Linked DNA regions of Homo sapiens: region 2 is linked to region 1. Evidence: promoter capture Hi-C in human tissues and cell types (Jung and others, 2019). All regions are on one chromosome and are shown on one strand. The core of a region is centred on a gene start or on the middle of the fragment in contact, and the rest is flanking DNA. Distances in the headings are between cores, read along the strand shown. Region 1 holds the start of IL11RA (interleukin 11 receptor subunit alpha). Region 2 overlaps DNAI1 (dynein axonemal intermediate chain 1).

Evidence for each region. Contacts are between HindIII fragments. The study calls those that stand out against the background at their distance.
Region 2: a contact is called between a fragment that was not itself captured here and the fragment with the promoter of IL11RA in region 1, in 2 of the 25 tissues and cell types used here (bladder and dorsolateral prefrontal cortex).

Annotation. Positions count from the first base shown.
Region 1 is chr9:34,650,677-34,653,645 of GRCh38, forward strand. It overlaps IL11RA (interleukin 11 receptor subunit alpha), which reads left to right and starts at 1,509. Exons shown (of 13, transcript NM_001142784.3): 1 at 1,509-1,557. It overlaps GALT (galactose-1-phosphate uridylyltransferase), which reads left to right. Exons shown (of 11, transcript NM_000155.4): 11 at 1-359. RefSeq lists a silencer at 1,465-1,564. The HindIII fragment of the contact is 13,062 bases long and covers 1-2,969 here.
Region 2 is chr9:34,497,943-34,500,911 of GRCh38, forward strand. It overlaps DNAI1 (dynein axonemal intermediate chain 1), which reads left to right. Exons shown (of 20, transcript NM_012144.4): 11 at 2,780-2,897. Among named protein-coding and RNA genes, the nearest start is that of ENHO, 24 kb to the right of the region's middle. The HindIII fragment of the contact is 6,320 bases long and covers 1-2,969 here.

The DNA of each region.
Region 1 (2,969 bases), core at 259-2,758:
AGATGTGTAAAATCTTGATGCAAAAATCTACCCCAAATTTCTGAACAAAATTAATATTCAGTATTATATCTAGCCTATAGATTCTCTTACTCTTGGTGTAATGACAGCATTCCCAGTTTAGGAAACTGTTTTAAAATCTTGTGTCTTGGTTGTGGCTGAGGCTTTGGGAAGGCCAGAGCCCCCTTTGCCACCACCCCTAGGGTGTCAGCTCCAAGCCTGGGCCTGAGGGTTTGATGGGGAGCGGGTGAGCTGGATCCTGATCCCAGTGGTCAGTGGCCAGATCCTGGGCTGCTGGCCAGAACCCTGGCTTTGTGAGTGGCTGCAGCTTGGCTCTGCTCCAGCCCACAGGGGCTAAAGGGGCGGGTAGGGAGTGTGTAGGGAGCGTGTACGTGGCTTTGTGTCCTTGGCTCCTCCAGACTCTCACATGTGCGGGCACCATATACTTCTGCTGCCCTTGTGCCCCAATCATTGCACAAACAGAAACAGCTCTGACAGAGAAGGGACTGCTAGAGTTAGGAACCCTAGGGCCTGGAAGGAAGGTATGGCTCTCAGAGTGACCTGGGGTCTATTCAGTCCCCTCTGGACCTGTTTCCCTGGCAACGCTGTGGGAACAACAGTCTATGCAACACAGGAGACCTGATGCCACTGGTGTCCTCCAAATTTTAAGGCGAAGGCAGGCATTGTGAATGATGCAGGGATGGCCAGAATGGTTTTTGCCTTCGTTCTTTCCCCAGGGGAACCAAGCCTGTGGGTGGGGAAATCACACTAAGGCTGGACAGTGACTGAATCTGGCCCAGGAGAAACTTGGCTGCCTGCCTTCCAGACCAGGGTTTTTCTTCCCTGAGATCCTGGAGGGGAAGTACCTGGAACTTGGGAGTGTTGCCCTGGTCTGGAAGATCTGATAGACATAGTATGCACACATTTCCCTCGAGCTTCCCATGACTGGGGAGTAGATGAGAACCCTGAGTGGGTGGCTGGTTTCTTGAGGCATACATATACCCGACACACCTTACACCTCTGATTTGGCTGCATTTTGGAATCATCTGGGAAGTTTTAAACAATACTGGTGCCTAGGTCCAACCTCCAGAGACTCTGATTTAATTGGTATGGGGTGGGGTTTTGCAGTTTTCAAACCACAATATCCAGCAAAGTTTGAGAACCACTGCCCTACACAGCCCTCCTTCTTCTTTATCTTATCTGGAGTCAGGGGCACCTTCAGCTTCTCCAATCACCTGGCCAGTGGCTCTTGTTTCCAGTCCTGCTGTTCCAGGGTGGATAGGCCTTCAGGCGGAGACCCAGGAATCCAGCTCCAGACTCTGTCCCAAGCAGCCTCTTCAGTCCGGGACGGGACAGGAAGTGTCCGGCGGAGGTGGGGGTGGAGGTGATTGGCAGTTGGAGTCTCCAATGGGCCAGGAGCCCCCCTATTTCACTCCTCTCCTTCCATTGGCGCCTGGGCGGAGCCACCCCCGCTGCGGGGGCCCAGGGCGGGAGGGAGTAGAGGCCGGGGCAGAGGGCGAGGGCGAGGGCAGAGGGCGCTGGCGGCAGCGGCCGCGGAAGGTGAGGCCTGGTGTAGACGCCAAAGTCTTGTCAGGAGTGGGCGGGGCAGGGTGATGTATGATCTGAAAGGCCGGGAGTGACTAACGACTGTCAGTGTGTATGTGCCTGTGAGGCTGTGTCTGTGTGACAGTATCATTGTGTGCGATTCTGAGTGTCACTTGGTGCAGCTGTCAGCTAATGTGACTGCGTGTGTCAGTGTGCATGGAGCTGGAGGTGCATGTGGCTGTGCAAGTGTGGGATTATGTGTGTATCTGTCAATGCACATTTTTGGTGGGACTGGGTTGTGTGTTTGTGTGAGAGGGACTGTGACCACATGAGGGAATGTGTTTTGGGAAGGTCTCTGTGGGGTTTGAGACCATGTCTGCCAGCGTGAGAGTGGGTGGCTGGCTTTGTGTGTGCCAATGTGTGACTTCAGCAGTAGCAGAGCAAAAGTGAGGTTTGTGACTATGTGTGTGTCCTGGGTCCTAACTTAAACCGTGTGGGAGTACAGCTGTATTCATGTATTGGGGGACCTACCTCAAGAGCCCATGGGACTGACCTTTCTCTTAAGTGTCCAGCATTGACAGACACACCCACAACACACGTGGCTTCCCCTCCTTCCTCTGCTCAAGAATCCCCAGCATCAGGTCTACTGCTCCTTATTTTCTGTTTCCCTGCTTGGCTCAGTTTCCCTTACGTGCCGTTTTCTGTCCCTATTGCTGTCTTACTAGAGATACCTCTGTGTGTTTCTTCACAGCTTTGTTCCCCTGGTCTCTCTGTGTGGGTGCATTTCCAGTTTTGCCTTTCCTTTCTCTCTGTCTCTCTCTGTGCCCCTATGCCTGCCTTCCCTGCTGATCTTGATCTCTGGCTAGTTGGGGGCCTGTAACAGTGATGAGATGCGGGTCTGCCCCGGCTAAGAGCTCCCTGAGAGAGGGGGCTTAGACCATGATGAAGAGTTGCTTTTAGGCGGTGCTGTGAGCCCTGGTAGGGGCTGTGTGCGTGTGTGACTGCGTGAGTGTATGAATATGTGTAAGTGTGTCTGAGTCTGAGGCGGTGTGGCTGTGCCCGTGTGACTGTGAGTGACCGCATGTGAGAGTGTATGAGTCTGAGGGTAACTGTGGGTCTTGTGTATCTGGCACCAAGGGACCAAAGGCATTTCCTGGTGCTGGGGCCCAAAGAATGGAGGGGGAGGTGAGAAATGGCTGGAACTTCCAGGGGAGGGGGAACTGGACTCTTTGGCCTCTCCTTATATCCCCCAACCTGGGGCCTCCCTTCCCCTGGAAGCACAGCCAGCTGTACCCTAAGGAAACATTTGGTGAGGAGTGAAAAGAGGGGGAGTTTGTATCTGATTTTTCATTTGATTGTGTCCACGTGTGTTCAAAGGCATGCCCTTTTGTTAACTGTGCCTCTTGAGTCTGTGTGTGAATGTGACT
Region 2 (2,969 bases), core at 470-2,969, 150 kb before region 1:
GGAGCCCATTAATGAAGGGCCTTGAATATCATGCAAGGAATGTGACCTATCTCTGCAGACAGTTCAGAGAACTGAAACTTTCTAGGCAGGGACACAGCCCGATGAGAGCAAGGCTGGAGGAGGATGTGATTGTGTAGAATATAGGGCAGAGGTGGAGGTGAGGCTCAAATGTGGGGTGGAATGGGCCTTACCACACCTGACCTAGCCTGTGTCTTAAGGAATGGAGAAAAGGGAACAGTTATAATAGTGAGAAACAAGCTCCAGCATTCACTGGGAGTAGCCTGTGTGTCAGGCATTGTGCTATGCAATTTACATGTTATTATTTTGTTTGTTCCTGACAGCCACACTGTGAGGTGAATACCATTATTATCTCCATTTTATAGATGAGAAACTCAGGCTGGGATGTTGCCACTTTTTCAAAGTCACAGCTAGTGTGAAGTGTGAGTGGCAGAATCAGAACTCGAACACAGGCCCCTTGGATCCATCACCTAAGCACTTCGCCGCTAGGCTGCAAAGCCACTGAGCCGGAAGAGACATTTCAAATAAACACACTCAATAGATCTATCCTGGTGATTAATTAGTGATGAGTTGAAGAAAGAGATTGATTCAGAAATGCTTAAATCCTGGGGGCCTGGGAAATTCTGGTGTCTGACAGTGTCAGGGAAACAGAATCCTTCCCATGGCATGAACAGCACATTCCCAAGTGGCTTGTATTTCCCTAAGAGGTTGTGCATTTATTTGGAGCAGCTGCCTTCCCAGAGTTGGCAGCTCCTCGATGCTGGCTGGTCTCCTTTGCTGACAGCCTAGGGCTCTTCTTGGTGACTTGATGCTCATTGCTCACCCATGGGACACAGAAACCAGGGCTGCCAAAACCAGCCACCTAAACAAGCCCCCTCATTATCATTCAGGCTGGAAAACGACCTTGAGTGCTTTTCAAAGCTGTCAAAGTACACAACAGCTGTGAATGAGTTTGTCACTCACACAGCGTGGCTTCTTGAAACCCAGCCTCTGCAAGTGGCCCACCAAAGGGCTGCAAACCTGATTAATATCCATGGAGAAATTGGCCTTGGTGAACCACTTTCATTTATAAGAACACAGTCACATAAAAATGTATTGAACTTTGATTTTTTTAATTGCATACTCCTTTCCCTTTGGGAAAGTGTAATCATGAAGGAGACATGAAAATAGAGAAGTGTTACCAATTAATCTCTGCTCTGAATTGAAGTATTTTCAAAGATAACCCAAGCGGGGTAATCTCTGATGTAATCAAGGCTCACGCCTCTCTGACCACTTGAATCTTTTTTGTTCTGAGACATTTTTGAGGTTTGAGTGAAGTCCCACAACCTCAAGGTATGGGCACTATAGGAGATGTCAGGCCTGGGCATGTTCTTGGCTTCACTGAATGACAGGATTCATTTTCTAATTGGTCACCCTTTGTCTAAAGAAGATCAAGAACTACTTCACTTCTGTTAATGAATTTCACTGCATTCTTTAAACAGTTGTTGGTTGTCTGTTTTGTGGCTGGCCCTGTGCTAGGCACTGGGGACCCAGAGAATATATGTGTGTCCTGCTCTCCAGATATTGTCTGGTGGGGGAGAACAGGCAAAAGGATAGAGGCAATCTAGTGTGACAGATGTTTCAGTAGAGGAGAGGCAGGGCTGGAACAGAGGAAGAAATTAACTCTGCTCAAAAGAAAATGAAGGCCTTACAGATGAGAAAGAGTTTGATCTGGATCTGGAGTGAGTAGGAGTTTGCCAGGAAGAACAGGGCATCTTAGACATGGAAAACGATGTAGAAACACCCAAAACAGGAGACAACTGGACTCATTGGCATGATTTGATATGGAGGGGACACGGACAGCTGACTAGAAATAACGTGGATCTCCTCTTGGTTTAATCTCCTCTGCAAGGAGAGCCATTGAGGGGGTTTCAGTGGAGTGAGGAAAGGGGTGTCGTGAGGTGCCTTGTTTGTACTCACACTGGTTGTTCTGTGAAACAAGGGTTGGAGAAGGAGTTACTGGAGGTAGGAGACCAGTTAGAGGGATGTTGTCATAATACAGGTGATGGATGTTGGGGCCTGAACCTGGGCAGGGGCTATGGGTTTGGAGAGAAGCGAATGAATTAAAAAGATAGAAGAAAAATATGAGAAATTATGGAAACAGATCAGTCAAGGATTACTCATTTCTGGTTTAGACAAGTGGGAGGATGGGGCATCTATCTAACTTAAAGAAAGTGGAAGGCAGAGACAATTTTGTGGGCAGGAGATGAAGTTGGGTTCAGAGAACCCATGGGGGATCTAGGCAGCTTCATTATAGGGAGACTTGGCTGTGGATATGAAAATGGGCTGCATTTTAGGGATTTAGGAGGCAGAATTAATGGAACTATTAATCAGCCCTTGGCAGCTGAACCCTTGAAATTTGGCTCCTCCAAACAGAGCCTCCTGAAATGCTAGGGAAACACATGGGAACAAGGGCTGCGAACCTGGGATTTTATCCATGTAGACATGGCCGGTGTATTGTAATGTACCTCCAACAACAACGACAGTAACAATGGCTAACACATAGAGCTTACTATGTGCCAGGCATTTTTCTAAGCTCTTTGCATATATTAACTCAATTCATATATCCTCACAACAGAACTCTGAGATAGGTAGTAGTATTATTCCCACTCTAAAACAGAGGCTCATTGTTTTGCCCAAGGAGGTACAGACAGTAAGTGGTGGACCTGGGTTTGCCATAAAGCGGCAGTCCCAGGGCTGACTCTGCCTGTGTGTGTTTAAGATTTTAAGTACTATGACGATGCTGCTGATGAATACCGGGACCAGGTGGGTACCCTGCTGCCGCTCTGGAAGTTCCAAAATGACAAAGCCAAGCGCCTGTCCGTCACTGCCCTCTGCTGGTAAGTATAGGCATTGCAGCAAATGCAGAGCCCCTGAGTGCCCTCTACATCCCAAACCCCCAGTACCCCCTT